Linked DNA regions of Homo sapiens: all the other regions are linked to region 5. Evidence: promoter capture Hi-C in 16 types of primary human blood cells and fetal thymus (Javierre and others, 2016). All regions are on one chromosome and are shown on one strand. The core of a region is centred on a gene start or on the middle of the fragment in contact, and the rest is flanking DNA. Distances in the headings are between cores, read along the strand shown. Region 1 overlaps PI4K2B (phosphatidylinositol 4-kinase type 2 beta). Region 2 overlaps ZCCHC4 (zinc finger CCHC-type containing 4). Region 3 overlaps ANAPC4 (anaphase promoting complex subunit 4). Region 4 overlaps SEPSECS-DT (SEPSECS divergent transcript). Region 5 holds the start of DHX15 (DEAH-box helicase 15). Region 6 overlaps PI4K2B (phosphatidylinositol 4-kinase type 2 beta). Region 7 overlaps ZCCHC4 (zinc finger CCHC-type containing 4).

What was found. Contacts are between HindIII fragments. The CHiCAGO score rates a contact against its expected background, and 5 or more counts as called.
Region 1: a fragment that was not itself captured here is called in contact with the fragment with the promoter of DHX15 in region 5 in 8 of 17 cell types (total B cells, fetal thymus, neutrophils and 5 more); the score reaches 9.0 in total B cells.
Region 2: a fragment that was not itself captured here is called in contact with the fragment with the promoter of DHX15 in region 5 in 2 of 17 cell types (total B cells and total CD8 T cells); the score reaches 6.0 in total B cells.
Region 3: a fragment that was not itself captured here is called in contact with the fragment with the promoter of DHX15 in region 5 in 1 of 17 cell types (total B cells); the score reaches 5.2 in total B cells.
Region 4: a fragment that was not itself captured here is called in contact with the fragment with the promoter of DHX15 in region 5 in 1 of 17 cell types (total B cells); the score reaches 5.0 in total B cells.
Region 6: a fragment that was not itself captured here is called in contact with the fragment with the promoter of DHX15 in region 5 in 1 of 17 cell types (fetal thymus); the score reaches 5.8 in fetal thymus.
Region 7: a contact is called between a fragment that was not itself captured here and the fragment with the promoter of DHX15 in region 5, in 2 of 17 cell types (non-activated CD4 T cells and neutrophils). The highest score is 6.8, in non-activated CD4 T cells.

The regions. Positions count from the first base shown.
Region 1 is chr4:25,235,931-25,238,630 of GRCh38, forward strand. The region is part of intron 1 of PI4K2B (phosphatidylinositol 4-kinase type 2 beta); the gene reads left to right. Among named protein-coding and RNA genes, the nearest start is that of PI4K2B, 3.2 kb to the left of the region's middle. The HindIII fragment of the contact is 3,257 bases long and covers 1-2,700 here.
Region 2 is chr4:25,353,761-25,356,460 of GRCh38, forward strand. The region is part of intron 8 of ZCCHC4 (zinc finger CCHC-type containing 4); the gene reads left to right. Among named protein-coding and RNA genes, the nearest start is that of ANAPC4, 22 kb to the right of the region's middle. The HindIII fragment of the contact is 2,938 bases long and covers 1-2,700 here.
Region 3 is chr4:25,395,011-25,397,710 of GRCh38, forward strand. It overlaps ANAPC4 (anaphase promoting complex subunit 4), which reads left to right. Exons shown (of 29, transcript NM_013367.3): 15 at 1,654-1,754; 16 at 1,838-1,889. Among named protein-coding and RNA genes, the nearest start is that of ANAPC4, 19 kb to the left of the region's middle. The HindIII fragment of the contact is 3,223 bases long and covers 1-2,700 here.
Region 4 is chr4:25,197,787-25,200,486 of GRCh38, forward strand. SEPSECS-DT (SEPSECS divergent transcript) reads left to right here. Exons shown (of 2, transcript NR_037934.1): 2 at 1-720. All of the region lies in intron 1 of LOC105374535 (a long non-coding RNA gene), which reads right to left. Among named protein-coding and RNA genes, the nearest start is that of PI4K2B, 35 kb to the right of the region's middle. The HindIII fragment of the contact is 1,244 bases long and covers 720-1,963 here.
Region 5 is chr4:24,583,208-24,585,907 of GRCh38, forward strand. It overlaps DHX15 (DEAH-box helicase 15), which reads right to left and starts at 1,347. Exons shown (of 14, transcript NM_001358.3): 1 at 1,116-1,347. The coding sequence starts at 1,186. RefSeq lists silencers at 606-655, 856-935, 946-1,065 and an enhancer at 1,246-1,785. The HindIII fragment of the contact is 7,218 bases long and covers 1-2,700 here.
Region 6 is chr4:25,268,625-25,271,324 of GRCh38, forward strand. PI4K2B (phosphatidylinositol 4-kinase type 2 beta) reads left to right here. Exons shown (of 10, transcript NM_018323.4): 9 at 520-579. Among named protein-coding and RNA genes, the nearest start is that of PI4K2B, 36 kb to the left of the region's middle. The HindIII fragment of the contact is 1,754 bases long and covers 416-2,169 here.
Region 7 is chr4:25,325,265-25,327,964 of GRCh38, forward strand. All of the region lies in intron 3 of ZCCHC4 (zinc finger CCHC-type containing 4), which reads left to right. Among named protein-coding and RNA genes, the nearest start is that of ZCCHC4, 14 kb to the left of the region's middle. The HindIII fragment of the contact is 1,024 bases long and covers 770-1,793 here.

The DNA of each region.
Region 1 (2,700 bases), core at 2-2,501, 650 kb after region 5:
ATAGCTTGAGGCTGGAAGTTCGAGACCCACCTGGGCAACATAGCGAGATCCCCATCTCTATAAAAAATAAACAACAACAACAACAAAAATTCAAAGTGAGGATAGAGTATAGTGTTAGAATACAAATGGATTCTTAGAATTCCTACCTTTTTTAAAGGTAATATCTTACCTGTATCACAGTTTACAATTTGCTAAGATCTTTTTTAAAAAAATATTTTATTCTCCACTGCACTCCAGCCTGGTTCTGTCTTGAGACAGAGCAAGACTCTGTCTCAAAAATAAATAAATAAATAAATAAATAAATAAATAAATAAATAAATAAATAAATTTTATTCTCTGTTGGGTGCCATGGCTCATGCCTGTAATCCCAGCATTTTGGAAGGCCTAGGTGGGTGGATCATTTGAGGTCAGGAGTTTTCAGACCAGCCTGGCCAACATGGTGAAACCCTGCCTCTACTAAAAATAGAAAAATTAGCCAGGCATGGTGGCGGGCGCCTGCAATTCCAGCTACTTGGGAGGCTGAGGCAGGAGAATCGCTTCTGAACCCGAGAGGTGTAGGTTGCAGTGAGCAGAGATGGCTCCACTGCACTCCAGCCTGGGTGACAGAGTGAGACTTTGTCTCAAAAAAAAAATTAATTATTTTCACAACAGCACAGCAAGTTAGTTGTTATTCGCCATTATTCTCATTATGAGGATTCAGAATTAATAAACTGGTAATGACTGGTAGCTCAGGTCTTCAGAGGTAAATGGTTTGCCCGAAGTCAAATATCCAGGAAGTAATAAATCAGGAGGAAGCCTGGTTCTTTCTTCATCTTCTGCCCCTTTTCCGTTTTGCCATGGGTCCACAAGTGTTATAAAATAATTGTGTCTGTGGTTATTTTGGAGGTTTTTACCTTTAATAGGACTTTAAAATAGTTTCTGTGAAAACTGTTTAAAAAATTTTTAAAGACTAAAATGTTCATGATTGAGTAATTTAATACTTTTTAAGTTTAGTTATTTTTTAAATGACTCCATTAACTTCATTTGTCCTTTACCATCCGATTTCCATGAAACTACCTCACTAGTTCCAAGAAATTCTTGCCTTTAGATTAATATGAACATCATTTATGATGCTTAACTCTTACTTATATAAGCAAGAGGTTTATGTACTTTAGCCAGTGGAAGAATGTCATATGTCTGTTATCTTCAACAAGGCATTTAACAAAGCCTACAAACAGCATAAACCATAGTGTTGTTGGATCAGTGTCAAAGTGGAAGGATTAGTGCATTCCTTGTTCTAGTTATTTTAATCAGTGAATTCGGTAGTAATGACAGCTAATGCCTACATAGCAGTTAATATGCGCTAGGCATAGTTCTGTATGCTTCATATATATTAATTCATAACCAACCCTGTGATGTGAGTACTATTTTTGTTTTTTTTTTTTGTTTTTGGCAGTGGGTGGCTGTAGGGGTGGCAGTGGGGGAACAGAGTTTCATTCCTGTCACCCAGGCTGGATTGTAATGGCGTAATCTCGGCTAACTGCAACCTCCACTCCCCAGGTTCAAGCGATTCTCCTGCCTCACCCTCCCAAGTAGCTGGGATTACAGGCACATGCCTGGCTAATTTTGTATTTTTAGTAGAAACGGGGTTTCACCATGTTGGTCAGGCTGGTCTCGAACTCCTGACCTCAGATGATCCTCCCGCCTCGGCTTCCCAGAGCACTGAGATTACAAGGCCACCATGCCTGGCCTTGTTCTCATTTTAAGAAAGTATAGGGAGAGGCTGGGCATGGTGGCTTACGCCTGTAATCCTAACACTTTGGGAGGCCTCTTTGGTGCACACCTGTAGTCCAAGCTACTCAGGAGACCGAGGCAGGAGGATTGCTTGAGTCCATGAGTTTCAGGTTACACTGAGTCCAGTGAGCTATAATTGCACCACTATACTCCAGCCTGGGTTACAGAAAAAGACCCTGTCTCAAAAGAAAAAAAGAAAAAGCACAAAGAAGTGAAGTGACTTCTCCAAGGTCCCAGTTAATACAAATCAGGAGCGCTTAGCTCCTGTTAGAGAGCCTAACAGTTAGAAAACAGTGTTAGAATTCACAAAGAGCTGCCAAAGTAAAAGAAAATGTGAATTTGTAAGTCATTTAATGATTCATGGTGGTTTATAAATATGTGAACAGAATAAGAAAATCATTTAAAAGGAAGAAAGATGAGAAGATGGAGCCTGGAGTAAGATTACACAAGATGTACCTCAGATGCTTGATGCAGGCAACCCACAGATTTGATTTTTGAAATTACTGAGCAGCTAACTTGAGAGAAACACAATCATGTGGTCTATACAGTTAAAATAAACTGGTTATTTGAACCAAAACAGAACAGACAAAGGGTAGCCTGTCACAGTCTCTTGGTGAATGCTGTATGCTGAACAATATCTGTGATTAAAGTGATTAATTTCATAAAGGTAGTTCTTATAACTTCCCTAAAGTCCATTTCAGCAGAAATGGTTTTAACTACTGGTGCTATTGTGTCCGGAATTGGTGGGTTCTTGGTCTCACTGACTTCAAGAATGAAGCCATGGACCCTCGCGGTTAGTGTTACAGTTCTTAAAGGCGGTGTGTTCGGAGTTTGTTCCTTCTGATGTTCGGATGTGTTCGGAGTTTCTTCCTTCTGGTGGGTTCGTGGTCTCGCTGGCTCAGGAGTGAAGCTGCGACCTTCACGGTG
Region 2 (2,700 bases), core at 176-2,675, 770 kb after region 5:
TTAAGGTTTTAAGGATTTTATGAAATAATACCTGGAAAGGCTTAGCCCTGTCCTTAACACACAGCAAGTATTAAGTTTAGGTTCTTGCTGTCGGCATTGTCATCACCATCACTGTCATTGTCATCATTCAGATAGTCCCAAGGTAGGGGTAAAACTCTCCCTCAGGTCCTTTTTTGATAAATCTGAGAGATTAAAATTGCATAATTGTATAAATTGGGGCAAAAGTAATTACAGTTTTTGCCATTCATTTTAATTCATTCATTCCTTTTAATGGCAAAAACCGCAATTACTTTTGCACCAACCTAATAATTCGTGCCCTTAGAAAACTGTTACATCCATATTTAGAGAGGAGTTTTTCTTTTTTCACTATGGGCAAGAGTTTGAAATGGTGAGAGGACAAAAGAAGACAGATCCAGAATACAGCAGATGAGAGAGGCAATTTTGGAGTAACCAGCTGTCACTTGTTAGGCAGTCTGTGTTACTAGGAAAGAACTTTTGGAAATATTAGGGTTACAGTTTTGAGAAATAGTTGCAAGGTCCAAGTGTGGACAATAATTATGCACTTCAGTGTATTGATGAAGAAAGGTTCTGATTAGGTCATATGTGTCTGACAGGCTAAAAAGCAGTCTTCTCAATAAAGAGAAAGCCAACCTTTGGGAAAAAAAATGAGAACAAAGTCTAAAAGCAAATTTGTTTTTCCTAATTCCTGCTAAAGGGAAGAACAGTACTGTCCATTACATGCTCATGTTGGAGAAACTGTGCCGTATCTCCTCATGTATTTATAAACATTATTTGATTACGTTCTTGGACAATTTTTCTATTTTTTGAAAATTTCTCTGGACCTATTATTCCTTTCTGAGCATTTTGCTTTCCTCTTTTTCTTTTGTTACTTTAACTTCATTAAAATTTTTTTTTTAAATAGTGATGGGATCTCTCTGTGTTGCCCAGGCTGGTCTCGAACTCCTGGGCTGAAGCGAGCCTCTCACCTCAGCCTCCCAAAGTGCTGAGATTACAGGTGTGAGCCACCATGCCTGGCCTAACTTCATTTTGTGGTACTTTTTTTTCTTGTATATTAGCCTTCATTGAATGAAAACTTTGAGTCCCCTCTCCTTCACAGATCTTTTCCCATAGACCTTGATTAGGCCTTTTTTTTTTTTTTTTTTTTGGACATCACCTGAGATGATTATAAGCCCCCAAACCACAATGCAGTAAAAAACCCCAAATCACTAAATCCCTTCTTTGGAAATACTTCCCAGGTAAGAGGAAGGCAGAAATGCTGCAAATCTTCATAAAACATAAATTATGTAGACTCTTCAGTGATCAAGCACTTGATGAATACAGAATAAAACAGTCATCAAAGACCTAGAAAACCAAGAGTTTTATTAACAACAGATTAGAAAGGAAGGATGTGATGATGAAAAGAAACTCTGATTTCAAGTCAGAAGTCTGAGTCCTGGCACTGCCTTTTAGAGACCACTTAATCTTGGGAGAAGTCACTTTATCTCTCCAGGTTCTGTTTCCTTACCTATAAAATAAAATGATTGAATCAGAAAAGAGATGGTAGATAAGTTTCTCTTTTGGTACTAAGCCTGATAAATTGCTAGTGATTTTCTGGAGAATTTGTTGAGAATACCAGGCTTGGTAGCAAAGAGTAATGTGATTAGTGGTGTCCACCATGGGGGTGGGGTCAGGGAGTGGTGGTGTTCATGTCCTGAATTTTCTGTGTCTGAATTAGATGATCTCACCTCCTTTCCACCTGAGATGTTCTGCTCTCTCTTGTATGTACTTAATATGGGACACTTGTTTGGGGTGTTAAAAATATAGCTCTTTGCTTTTGTCAAAGCTATCCTTTTTAAACATCAGCCTGTTAGGACAGTATGTTTTTCAAGATTAGTTTCACAGTCAGAAATGAAGATATTTTGGCAGCAATTTCTGGAAAATTATTGCAAATTAAAAGATGGCTACCAAAATTCTTAAAATTTAATCTGTAATAAACATAAAACATGTAGTGGGTTTGAAGTAAAAAGGGGTATAAGATGTCCGCATGTCAATTTCAAATGAGAGCTTATGGGATATGGGTATTATGATAGACTTTGCTGCTGTGGTAGAAGCTGGTTGCTGGAGCAGAAGAAGGTACTGGGGACTTTGTGTGTGTGCTGAAATCCAATAGAACACAATCCTTAGGGAGTTACAGAAATGCAAGTACTCTGTCTTATTTAATCTTTCTTTCCTGGCCTGATACCTGGAACATAGTAGGCACAAAATAAATGTTGACATGGACGTCTCGGTCTCCATTTAACTAGTTTCAGTCTCATGTTACAGAAGACATTTGCGTATAGATAAAATTAAAAATTGGAAATTGCAGAGATTTTGTGCTTTCCCTCATTTCTATACAGTACTTCATCACATTAAATCAGTTCCATGGGAGAAATTTTCTATTTGAAAATGCCTCTCATCATCATTGTGAGTGAAATGTCAGGGATAATGATGGGAAAATGGTGTATCAGCTCTACTACTAGTGATAGGCAATTTGCAAAATTGTGTTTGCTTTACAGCACTTCCATAGGAGGTTTATTTGTGTGGCTGAAGCTATGAAATATGGATATATGTTAGAGGTACATTAATTTACTCTAGCAGCATGCATTTTACATACCATATGTTTATAGTTAATTAGCACAACAAACCCGCATTTAAAAATAA
Region 3 (2,700 bases), core at 190-2,689, 810 kb after region 5:
TCTAGCTAAAATTGTTGCATGGCATTTGAGAAGAATCTTCCTATACCCAAGATTGAAAGAGTCAATAATAATTCTGCTTTATGAAGTAATTTTCCAACATCTTTTCACCAGGCTAGACTCTATCTGGGTTTTTTTCTTAATCAGCTAAGCATGAAGTATATTTTGAAATAAGGCATATATCTTTTTTTTGAGCAGTGAGATTAACATTTTACAGTTTACCAAGAATATTGTATATTTATTTATTTAATATCTTGGCAAGGTGTTGGTGATTTTACACAAGAGGATACAGAAGTTCAGAATCAGTTATATGGCTGGCCCAAAGTTACTAAGTGTCGGAGCCAAGACTTCATCCTAGATTTTCAAATCTCATGCTTTTTCTATCCATAGCTACTTCATTGAAGCATTTTACAAGTGGATGCTGGGCGTTTGATTTATTTTGTTTGATTTTTGGTTTTTTGTTTTTTCGAGATGGAGTCTTGCCGAGGCTGGAGTGCAGTGATGTGATCTCGGCTCACTGCAACCTCCGCCTCCCGGGTTCAAGCGATTCTCCTGCCTCAGCCTCTCAAGTAGCTGGGATTACAGGCGCAAACCACTACGCCTGGCTAATTTTTGTATTTTTAGTAGAGACGGGGTTTCACCGTGTTGGCCAGACTGGCCTCAAGCTCCTGACCGCAAGTGATCCACCTGCCTCGGCCTCCCAAAGTGCTGGGATTACAGGCATGAGCCACCACACCTGGTGGTGTTTGGTTTAAATTTTGGTATATTCCTTTATGCTGAGTCCCTGGCCCTAACTACATCACCCCTCCCTTGGACCACTGTAGCACCCTCTGGACTAGTTGGGCTCTTTCAGTACACACTGTCCTTTGAATGTATTTTCCCCAGTAGAGCTAAACATATTTCTCTCTTAAAAACTTCTAATGCCTTCCGTTAGAATGGAGACCTTTGTGTGGCCTTTAGCATACCTGCCTCTCTGCCTCGCCCACACTGATGGCCATTTAGTTTCTCCAACTTGACATTTTGTCTCCTGCCTAGGGCTTTTGCATATTCCTCTTGTCCCAACTTGTTCTTCACATGCATTCTTCAGCTCTCAGCTCATTCATTCCTTCAGAAAAGCCTTTCTGAATCCCAGATTAGCTCAGGTTCTTCTGTTATACCTGCACCCCATGTGTTTCCTTCAAGGCATTTATAGTAGTTGGAATGGTACACTGTATGACTATGCGATCATGACTGTCTTCCCTGTTATACTGTCAATGCCATGAGACCCTTTGATTGTGTTCACCGTTATGTCCCCAGTATATAGCACGGTACCTGACCCAAAATGGGAACTTAAGAAATATTTATTGAACATTGACTGTGTAGTAGTTGGGTGAACAAGATGGCTGTACAACTGTCTTAAAAGGGTCAGGACTAACTGTGGAACACAATTTGATCATCTTACAAAATTTGATCTTGTCATTTGTTTATCTCTGTAGTCACATTGACCAGATGGTTCTGCTGCAGTTTTTAGGAACAGTTTTGAGAAATAATTATTTCTCATGGAAACAAAATGAAAGTTACTTTCAGTTTTTATTTCTGAAAATTTAGAAATATTCAGGCAAGTTAGTCACTTGATGATCGTCATGATACTAATTTATTTCTGCTCTGTTTGGATAGTGGCTCGGAGTCTTTATTATACCATTTGAGTGAATTGAAAGGAATGGCTTCATGGAAGCAAAAATATGAACCTCTTGGACTAGATGCTGCAGGAATCGAAGGTAGTGATTTAATTTCTCAGTGAAATACATTAAACACAGTTTACTTATTTGACAAATGACGTTTATTTATTTTTTCCCTTTAGAAGCTATAACTGCTGTGGGTTCTTTTATACTCAAGGCAAATGAACTTCTTCAGTAAGTATTGGGAGTACCTGGAATCACTGACCTAAGAATATGTCACTTTTGACCTAAATAAGAACCTAGTAAGCTGTTATGATTCTCTTAAAATCAGTTTTTAAATTTTTATCACAATTATGCCTTTATATGGTTCCGAAAAGCCAGCAGCACAGAGAATTTATAAAGTAAAGCTGTATTTTCCTGTCCTGGTCATCCTTACCTCAGGTCTTCTCGCCAGAGGGAATCATTTTAACTCTTTAACTACTTCTATTTTTAGTTCTTCTATGGGTTACCTCCATATTTCTAAATTGTATGACTATGCCACATTTCTTTTGTCAATTTTTAGAAGTTATTCTCTTTGTTTTGTTTTTCTTAGACTGTTAGGCTTGCTTGTTTTCTTGCATTGTCTGTTTTTTCTGCATCCTTCCGTCCTTTCCCTTCTGAAGGGTGGTGTAGTACCTCTGGAGTCCCCTGTTCCAGATGCCTTCCTTAGCCTCCCACCCCTCTGCTTCAGCCTGCAGCTGTGGTCCAGTTCTCCTGCACGGCTACCACCCGGGCATTTTCTTCATTACTCTCCTGGGTTAGACCCAGAACTGCCAGGATTGCCTTTGTTTCTTGGCTTATTTAATCATTTTGCTGGAAAACATCCTCTAGTAACTTTCTCAAAAAGCAGACATAGAAGGTAAACTTTATCTCCTTTTGTGTTTTTTCTCCTACCCTCACACTTAATTGACAGCTGGCTTTAGGATTCCCTGAGGGTTATTGGTTTTCACATAGAACTTCAAAAGCAGAGTTCCATAGGATTCTGTGCTTTTTGTTGCTGATGGAA
Region 4 (2,700 bases), core at 92-2,591, 610 kb after region 5:
TGGAAATATCTACCAAAGCTAAATATTCACCTACCCCATGACCCAGCAATTTTACTCCTAGGTATATATACCAAAAAAAATGAGTGTTCTGTGTCCACTAGAGATATGTGCCAAAGTGTTCATAATAGATCCAAACTGGAAACAGCTCAAATGTCCATCAATAGCAGAAAGATAAACAAATGTTGGGATGTTCAGAGCTTGAAATATGACACAATATAAAAGGACAAACTATTAAAACTCACAACAGCATGGATAAATCTTACAGACATAATTATTGAGCAAAAGATACCAGAAACACAAAAGTATATACTGTCTGATTCCTTTAAATAAAGGTTAAGATGATTCTCCCTCCTGCAGCCTTGTGAAGAAGGTGCCTTTCTTCCCCTTCGCCTTCTGCCATGATTGTAAGTTTCCTGAGGCCTCCCCAGCCATGTTGAATTCTCATTGTCCCTGATAAAATAGCACCCTCTCTTCCTCTGCTCTTCCACCCTTTTCCTCTTCCGCTGTGCAACTGAAGACTGGGAAAGAATGACATGCAAAATAAGAGGTTTTGGATTCAGCGTAGGACTAACTACTGGATGCTACTTACAGAAAACTTTATATTTGTGCTGAAAAATCTTGTTATCTAGGTGAAAGCCAATGCTATCCTAATGACAAAATTGTTGGGGAAATAAATTTATAAGAGACTTTATTTAAAGAAATAAAAGAAAAAATAATAAAGCTTAAGACAAAAAACTAATCCATTTTGGTAGACATCAGCACTTACCTCTGAGAAGGAAAATGGTTACTGATGGGGAAGTGGGAGGCATAAGGGAATCTTCTGGGTGATGAAAATGTTCTATTTCTTGATCTGAATTGTAGTTACTTGGGTTTAGACATATGCTTAAAAATCGTCAAGTTATGTGTTTAAAACATGTGCACCTTACAGTATATAAGCCACACTTCAATTTTTTTAAAGGTCCCCACAACATTGTTGTTTTCAAGGAAGTACAGGAAATATCTTTTACTCTGTGTTAATTCAGGGAAGTTATCTCCATAAGTGCTTTACAAAATAATCTTCATAATATAGTAGCACCATTAAGTAGGCATTATTATCTCTGTATCACAAATGCACAATATGAGAGTCAGAGAGGTTAAGTTATTTTCCAAAGTCACACAGCTAATCAATGGCAAAGTTAGGATTTTTTTTTTCTTTTTTGAGACAGAGTCTTGCTCTGTCACCCAGGCTGGAGTGCAGTGGTGTGATTTCAGCTCACTGCAACCTTCGCCTCCCAGCTTCAAGCGATTCTCATGCCTCAGCCTCCCAGGTAGCTGGGATTTCAGGTGTGCAACCACCACACCCAGTTAATTTTTGTATTTTTGGTAGAGATAGGGTTTCACATGTTGGCCAAGCTGGTCTTGAACTCTTGACCTCAAGTGATCCACCTGTCTCAGCCTTCCCAAGTGCTGGGATTACAGGTGTGAGCCATCACACTCGGCCAAAGCTAGGATTTGAATATAAGTTTGTCTGACCCTCAAAACCCATGCTCCTTCCTCTGTGTTAGCCAACTTCCTGCATAGCCAACTTCCCAGGGTCATGGAAAGAATCATTAACGCAACCCAGGAATGCTCTCCCGGAGTGTGGCTATATCTAGAGAAATTGTGGAAAGAGGCCAGGCACGGTGGCTCACTCCTGTAATTCCAGCACTTTGGGAGGCCAAGGTGGGAGAATCATCTGAGGCCAAGAGTTCAAGACCAACTTGGACAACATAGTGAGAACCCTTTCTCTATTCAAAAAAAAGAAAGAAAGAAAGAATTTGCCTAAATAGAACAGAAAAGGCTGTATGTGCAAGACAGTTACTGCAGGTTTTATAATAGTAAAAAGCTAGAAAAAAACTAATTATTCAACAGTACATAATTAAGCAAATTAAAATACATATATTCAATAGGATATTAAGCAGCCATTAAAAGTCATACTTAAGAAAGCTTATGATATAATTTTCACTGAGGTAAAACTGAATAAAAGTTGCATGTACTTTAAGAATACAACCACGAAAAACAAAGCTTTTTAAACTTATGCACAGAGAAAGGAAAGGCCAGAAAGTGTTTGTATGTAAAGACCATTAGTATGTGTTGTCTGTGATTTTTTTCAGCTGTGTTTTGTAGCTTTTCCTTGTAGAGGTCTTTCACCTCCTTGGTTAGGTATATTCCTAAGTATCTTTTTTTTTGCAGCTATCGTAAAAGGGGTTGCATTATTGATTTGATTCTCAGTTTGGTCGCTGTTGGTGTATAGAAGAGCTACTGATTTGTGTATATTAATTTTGTATCCAGAAAACTTTCCTGAATTCTTTTATCAGTTATAGGAGCTTTCTGGAGGAGTCCTTAGGGTTTTCTAGGTAAACAATCATATCATCAGCAAACAGCGACAGTTTGACTTCTTCTTTACCAATTTGGATGCCCTGTATTTCATTCTCTTGTCTGATTGCTCAGGCCAGGACTTCCAATACTATGTTGAGGAGGAGCTCATGGATAGGTAGAATCAATATTGTGAAAATGACCATACTGCTAAAAGCAATCTACAAATTCAACACAATTCCCATCAAAATACCACCATCATTCTTCACAGAATTAGAGAAAACAATTCTAAAATTCATATGGAACCAAAAAAGAGCCCACATATCCAAAGCAATACTAAGCAAAAAGAACAAATCTGGAGGCATC
Region 5 (2,700 bases), core at 97-2,596:
CAAACAGGTCTTTGTACTTCATCAATGAAAACACACAAGGGACAAGAAATGATTTTCACGAAATTGCTTAAATTAACTGCTAAATTCCTCTGTACCTTTAAGGAAAGGAATCTGGAACACCAAGAGTTTGTGTAAGTATTTCAACTCTCAACCTCCACATGGGCGGTGTTTCGCCATAAATACTAAAAACACGTTTTGAACATGATCCCTGTATTTCAAAAGCTACTTATGAAGAAAAGTGGGACATGCATAGAAAATAAATGATGAAAAAAAAAAACAATGCCTTCTAATCCCTCCCCATGGGACGATGTTCAGTAACCAGTTTTAACCAAAGCAGGAAATACAGGAGATGGCGGGAGCGTAGGCAGAGAGCGGAAGTTTGCTAGTATCTACTTTGAAGTGTTTGAATGGACCAAGGCACGCTCTCTCCCGCCAAACTATAAACTCAGTCGCCCCAAAACACCAGCCTTCCAGCCCATCAGGTATATTACTCCACGTTTTCCTTTCTCCCGGCAGGTCCTCTACTCCCACCTCCCCCGAGAACTCCCTATTTGCTGGCTTCTCTCAACTCCCGCCACCCCCATCCCAGCCTACATTATGATCCACGCGCTGCTCTCACTTTCCGCCCTCCGCCTTTCCCGTCTGGAGTGCCTGGCCGCGCCCCCACCCAGGCCCTCCCCACGGCCCCTCTGGCTGGGAAGTGCCTGCTGCCCTTGGAAGCGAATACTCCCACCGCGCCCTCCCCCACCCTCTCCTCCGGCTCCAGGCCTTCCTCGGGAACCGAGGCCACGAGGTCCGCGGTTCACTCCCGCCCGACGCCCTCGCAAATGACTCCCGCTCGGTTCGGCCTGGGGGAGGAGGCGCCCTCATGGCTACTGCAGGCCTCTCCACCCTCCGGACTGGGCTGGGCAGCGGCCCCGTCGCACGCAACCCCCCGCGCCCTTGCCGGGCCGAACGGGCGCCGCGCTTCTCCTACCCGCCGCTAGTGAACCCAGCCCAGAGAGAAACAAAGGCTCGGGCTCCAGGACCCGCTCGGCCAGGCCAGCCCCGGCCCGCTCCCTGCCAGGACCCCAACAAAGCCCGAGCTGCCGCCTCGCGCCCCCGGCCTGGCTTACCCATCGGTCCCCGCACGCTTCTTGCCAGAGGGGTAATCCTCCCCTAGGTCCAACCGGTGCCGCTTGGACATCCTCGCACTCTTCGAACGGGCAGTTATTAAGGAAGAAAGCTGGCTGCTGTATGGGCACAGTCGAGGACAGCCACTTAACTCTGGAGGACCCCCACCCCTCCCGCTACTACAGCCCACACGGTGCGGCCGGAACCAACAGCTAAAATGGCGGCGGCGACGAGGGCTGGGCCTGCGCGCGCGCGCGCTTCCGCAGCGTGCGTGCGTGCGAGTGTGCGTGTGAGCGAGGTGCGCGCGCACGACGCCCAAAGGCGGGAACTCCTGTCCCGCCCGCTGCCTCATTGGTCCGACCTTTCTTGGGTCTCCTCCCTCTTCCTGTAGCTTTCCCCTCCTCGGAGCGGCTGTTAGGAAGAACCTGAAGGCCTTCACTTTCCATTTCAGGCTATCCTTGCCCCTCTGAGTCAAGAAATTGAGAAAGTCTAGTCCTAGTTAGGAAATCCTATTCATTTCTATTACCCCGGCTTTAAGGGAATCTCAGACCCAGAGAGGTTGAGAAACGAATGAAGATCGTACAGCTAATAAGTGGCAGAGCCGGGATTGGAACCCAGCTATTTAGTAACTCCAGATCTGGAACTTGCGGCCACTGCGCTACCCTCAGTTGCAGTGAGGGGCCGCGCGATGGTTCACGCCTGTAATCCCAACGCTTTGGGAGACCGAGGCGGGTGGATCACGAGGTCAGGAGTTCGAGACCAGCCTGGCCAACACGGTGAAACCCCGTCTCTACTAAAAATACAAAAATTAGCTGGGCGTGGTGGCGTACGCCTGTAATCCCAGCTACTCGGTAGGCTGAGGCAGGAGAATCGCTTGAACCTGGGAGGCGGAGGTTGCGGTGAGACGAGATCACACCAGTGCACTCCAGCCTGGACGACAGAACAAGACTCCGACTTGAAAGAAAAAAAAAAATCAATTGCAGTGAGGAAACTGAAGTGAGAAAATGTTAAGGCTTGTCATGATCTATTTTGCCCTTTTCTTGCCCAGCACGGACACCATGCACCCAAGCTATAGATGTTTTTAACTAGAATACAGAGAATTCGCAGTGAGGGCACAATTTGCTTTTTTGTTTTTTGTTTTTCTGTGCCTATTAATGCACTTTCGCAGTGTTAAATAACACCCTGCAAGGTAGTTGTTATTTTGTAGACGTAGACGCAAAGGCTGAGGAAGGTTACATCTCCTAGCCATAAGGGCTGTACCTAAAGCCATAACAAGGAGGTGGGGCAAGATGACTCTAAGGATTTTTGTGGATCTCTCCCCCTAGAATATGTCTGCTTCCTCAGTTGCATTTGTTCCCAGAAGAAATGCACAAGAAAAGATCTGTGGACCATCTGCAGCAGGGTGATCTCTGTTGTTCATGGAATGGCTTGGTTTGGCTGCCCTGGAAGACCATACTCTGGTTCTTATCCAAATCTCAGGACTGCAATTGCTAGGATTAAATGCAACTTAAATATTGCAACTGATGAGGGGTTTGTGTGTTTGTTTTGAGACAGTCTTGCTCTGTCGCCCAGGCTGGAGGACAGTGG
Region 6 (2,700 bases), core at 43-2,542, 690 kb after region 5:
AGAAGAGACTGCTTAATAGAGCTGATTTGCAATTTTCTATTTCTTGTATTGCTGCTTGCCATAAAACCTGACAGGACAGAGAGGAATTAGCAGTTTTATTTACAGGAGCATAGATTCATAAAGCTATACTTACTGTGAGCATTCTTTGAAGTGAGACTACATTAAAACTTAATTTGCTGTTTTCTTCAAAAGTTGAATTTTTACAAGAAGACTCTATAAATTATAATACATATTTGGTGACCTGCTATGTTTTAGTTCTCTTAAAAAGCCTAAATTCATTGGCTGGAAAGTCATGTTAAATCCTTTCTGGAACAAGTTCAGGTCCAAATAAATAAGTCTATTCGTGTCATTCTGGGAGTATACAAAAATACCTCAGGTAAAAATACTATTTTTGTTTTATTTTATCAATTAGGAAAGCTTTTTAATGGCCTTATTTGCTGAGTTGAAGAGTTCATCTGTTTTCAAATATTTATATCAAAGTCTTTATTTTGGGAATTGTTTTTTTCCTTTCTATAATAGACTGACAAAGGATTTGACAAAGCCACTTTTGAAAGTCAGATGTCTGTGATGAGGGGTCAGGTAAGTTACCTTTTTATTTGTTCATAAGGAAAAAAATCTCTTTGAAACAGTAGTCAACTGTTTTCCCCACTGTGATCTGGAGATGGAATTTTTAATACTACCTCTTATGCTGAACCAAAATAGCCCAGATTATTAGAAATGAAGTTGATTCGGCCGACTGCAGTGGCTCACGCCTGTAATCCCAGTGCTTTGGGAGGCCAAGGCGGGTGAATCACCTGAGGTCAGGAGTTCGAGACCAGCCTGGCCAACATGGTGAAACCCCATCTCTACTAAAAATACAAAAAAATTAGCTGGGTGTGGTGGCGGGCACCTGTAATCACAGCTACTTGGGAGGCTGCAGCAGGAGAATCGCTTGAACTCGGGAGGCAGAGGTTGCAGTGAGCTGAGATCACGCCACTGCACTCCAGCCTGAGCAACAAGAGCAAAACTCCATCTCAAAAAAAAAAAAAGAAATGAAGTTGATTCAAATAGTTTCTTCCCTCTATTATCTTATAAATTAGGTGGGTTTTTTTTGTTTTTGTTTTTTTTGAGACAGAGTCTCGCTCTGTAGCCCAGGCTGGAGTGCAGTGGAACGATCTCGGCTCACTGCAAGCTCCGCCTCCCAGGTTCATGCCATTCTCCTGCCTCAGCCTCCCGAGTAGCTGGGACTACAGGCGCCCACCACCACACCCGGCTGATTTTTTTCTATATTTTTAGTAGAGACGGGGTTTCACCATGTTAGCCAGGATGGTCTCGATCTCCTGACCTCGTGATCTGCCCGCCTCAGCCTCCCAAAGTGCTGGCATCACAGGCGTGAGCCACCGCGCCCAGCCTAACTTAGGTATTTTTGACCTTGTTGTATACTGTTTATTTAGCTCAGTGTTTCCCCTGCTATGAATTGTTTGTCCCCATTTTGATAGCTATTTTCTTGGGCATCACTACCTTTTTCCCTCTCAGATTCACTCACTTAGACATTTCAGTACCAAGTTCTGTTGTCAATAGATTACTTTTTTTCTTTTTTCGCGGAATGTGGCTTTTGCTAGAGCAGTCACTAAATAACCATGTCACCAAGATTGAGTATCAATTGTGACATGAAAAAACTAATTGTAACTCAGTCCTCTCCCTGACCCCCCTTTCCTCTTGTTTTTTTGGTTTTTTTTCTTTTTTTCTTTTCTTTTTTTGAGACAGACTCTTGCCCTGTCGCCCAGGCTGGAGTGCAATGGTGCGATCTCAGCTCACTTCAACCTCTGTCTCCCAGGTTCAAGCGATTCTCCTGCCTCAGCCTCCCAAGTAGTTGGGATTACAGGTGTGCATCACCACACCCAGCTAATTTTTTTGTATCTTTAGTAGAGATGGGATTTCACCATGTCGGCCAGGCTGGTCTTGAACTCCTGACCTTGTGATCCAGCCGCCTTGGCCTCCCAAAGTGCTAGGATTACAGGTGTGTGCCACCGTGCCCAGCCCCTCCTCACCTTTAGTTAAAGGTTAGAAGTACAAGGCATTAAGTCTGCTGATGTGGATCTGCAGGCTGGGCTCACTGCAGGCTGGGCTCACTGTTAGATGACTTCTGCTTCTTGGACTCTATGAATGGTATTTCTATTCCAAAAGGAAAGCTTGAAATATAAATAAATTATACTGTAAACATTGTCTTTTAGCGTCTTATAAATTAACATTCTCTTCCTAAAATATACATTTAAGGTAGCTGTTTGCCACAATACCTGTAGCAAAGAAGTACAAGTCCATATAATTACACAGAGAATCATTCATTCATTCACCAAATGTTTATTGACAGAACTAGTGCTGGCAACTAGTCACTGGAGATAAAGCAGTAAGCAAAACCAAGCTTCTGCTGTCATGGAGTTTTGCTCTGCAGAGAAGGCCAGGGCTCGGTGAAAAGGGACAGGTGATTTTAGATTATTAGCTCACGCATCTCTCTGCTCCATCACATTTATGCAGTGCTTAATGCAGTCATGAGTTTTAAGTAGTTAAGTGAAGGCTCGAGAAATAGAATGGAGCCAGAGTATAGAGGGCCTTAAACACCAGACTGTAGATTCCACAAGGAAAGGATTGGAGCAGTTAGAAATTAAGCATTAAAGAAGGGCTGTGATGAGACAGAAGTTTTCGAAAAGGAGATCTTATTCT
Region 7 (2,700 bases), core at 32-2,531, 740 kb after region 5:
AAATATTTTCTGCCATTCTTGGGTCGTCTTTTCACTCTCTCTTTTTTTTTTTTTTGGCAGTGGTGCCATCTCGGCTCACTGCAACCTCTGTCTCCTGAGTTCAAGTGATTCTCGTGCCTCAGCCTCCTGAGTGGCTGGGATTACAGGCGTGTGCCACCACACCCGGCTAATTTTTTTTTAGTAGAGATGGTGTTTCACCATGTTGGCCAGGCTGATCTCGAACTCCTGACTTCAAGGGCTCTGCCTGCCTCAGCCTCCCAAAGTACTGGGATTATAGGCGTGAGCCACTGTGCTGTCTTTTCACTTTCTTAATGGTATCCTTTGCTGTGCAAAAGTTTAAAATTTTTTATTAAGTTCAATTTATTTTTTGTCACTTAAGAGTATCTTTTGAAGAAAAAAATGTTAAGTCATGACGAAGTTCATTTTATTGATTCTTACACTTTGTGCTTAGTCTTATTTAAGAAATCTTTGCCAAACCCAGTCATTATTATTTTCTAATATGTTTTCTTTAAAGTTTTCTAGTTTTAGTTCCTAGAGTTAGGTCTATGATCTATTCGGGGTTAGTTTTTTTATATGAAGTGAGGTAAGAGTCAAGGTTCATTGCTTTGCATATGGCTTTCAGACTTTTCCAGCACCTTATCTGCTGTGGGATTAGAGAGAAAAAAAAATACTTTTCCAGCACCATTTGTTGATAATATTATCCTTTCCTTGTTGAATTGATTTGGCACCTGCATTAGTTTTCCTGTTGCTGCTGGAGCAACTTACCACAAGCTTAGTGGTATACAACGACATAGATTTATTCTTCCAGTAATGGAGGCCCAACATCCAAAATCAACTAAAGCAGGTTAAAGTTAAGCTGTTGGTGGGGCTAGTTCCTTCTGAAGACTCTGAGAAGAGAATTTGTTTCTTGCTTTTTCCAGCGTCTGGGACCACCTGCATCTTTGGCTGTGGCCCGTGCTCCGTTTTTATAGCACATCACTCCAGTCTCTGCTTCTGTCACCACATAATCTTCTCCCTCACTCCACTGCCTCTGGCTTATAAGAACCCTTGTAATTATGTTGAGTCTACCCAGATGACCCAGGATAACCTCCTCATCTTAAGATCCGTCACTTCATGACATCTGTAAATTCTCTTTGGTCCTATATGTGTATTCACAGGTTCCATATTCTCTTTGGTAGGATGTGGGGAGTGAGGGGGCATCATTCAGCCTACTGCAGCACCTTTCTCAAAAGTCAGTTAACTTTATATGTGTTTTTTTTTCTGGACTATTTTTTTCCCTTGACCTATAGGTATATCTTTACATAAATACCACATTGTCTTGATTACTGTGACTTTATAATGTCTTCTTGAAATTGGGTAGTGTAAGTCTTCTTTGTCCATTATTTTCAAAGTTGTTTCCGCTATTATAGGTCCTTTTTATTTTCATATGAATTTTTTGAATGAGGTTTTCAGTTTCTACAAAAAATCCTGCTGGGATTTTGATTGAGAGTGTGTTGATTTTATAGATACATTTGGGGAGAATTGACATCTTAATAGTATTGAGTTTTCTAGTCTGTGACTGTGGTGTATCTCTTCAGTTACTAAGTCATCTTTAATTTTTCTTGGTGATGTTTTGTAATTTTCAGTGCACTGCAGTTACACATCTTTTGTCAGATTTATCACGAAGTATTTCATGTATTTTAATGTGGTTTTAAATTGTATTGTTTTAAAATTTCAGTTTCTAATTGTCTATTGCTAGACTCTAACAATACAGTTGATTTTATATATTGATCTTTTATTTTGAAATCTTGATAAGCTTACTTACTAGTTCTAGCAGGCTTTTTGAAGATTTCCTTAGGATTTTGTACATGTGTGATCATGTTGTCTGTGAATAAAGAAGTTTTAATGTTTACTTTCCAATTTATGTCTTTTGTTTTTTTATCTTGTCTTATCAAACTGGCTAGAAACCCTTAGTCAATGTCGAGTAGAAGGCTGAGAGCAGACATCTTTGCTTTGTCCCAGTCTTGGGGAAATGCATTCAGTCTTTCAGCTGTATGGTGTTAGCAATAGGTTTTTCTTTGATGCCCTTTATCAGATTGTAGAAGTGCCCTTCTATTTCTGGTTTTTTGAGAATCTCCCTCCCTCCCTCCCTCCCTCCTTCCCTCCTTCCCTCCTTCCCTCCTTCCCTCCTTCCTTCCGTTCCTTCCTTACTTGCTTCGTCCCCCACCACCCTTCCTTCCTTTCTTTTCTTTCTTTTTCTCTGTCTTGCTCTGTCACCCAGATTGGAGGGCAGTGGGACGATCATGGCTCACTGTAGACTCTACCTCCTTGGTTCAAGTGATCCTCCCACCTCAGCCTCCCCAGTAGCTGGGACTATAGGTGTGTACTACCACACCCAGCTAATTTTTTTACTTTTTGAAGAGATGAGGATCTTACTGTGTTGCCCAGGCAGGTCTCAAACTCCTGGGCTCAAGCCGTCCTCCTGCCTCAGGCTTCCTAGAGTGCTGGGATTAGAGGCATGAGCCACCATACCCAGCCTGAGAATCTTTATCATCAGTGGATGTTTGATTTTGTCAAGTGCGTTTTTGGGGGGCACCTAATGAAATTATCTTTTTTTCAAAAAAGCCTGTTAATATGAATTACATTGATTGAATTCAAACTTTTAAACAACCTTGCTTTGCTAGGATAAACTATATTTCGTCATGATGTAATAGCTTTTTA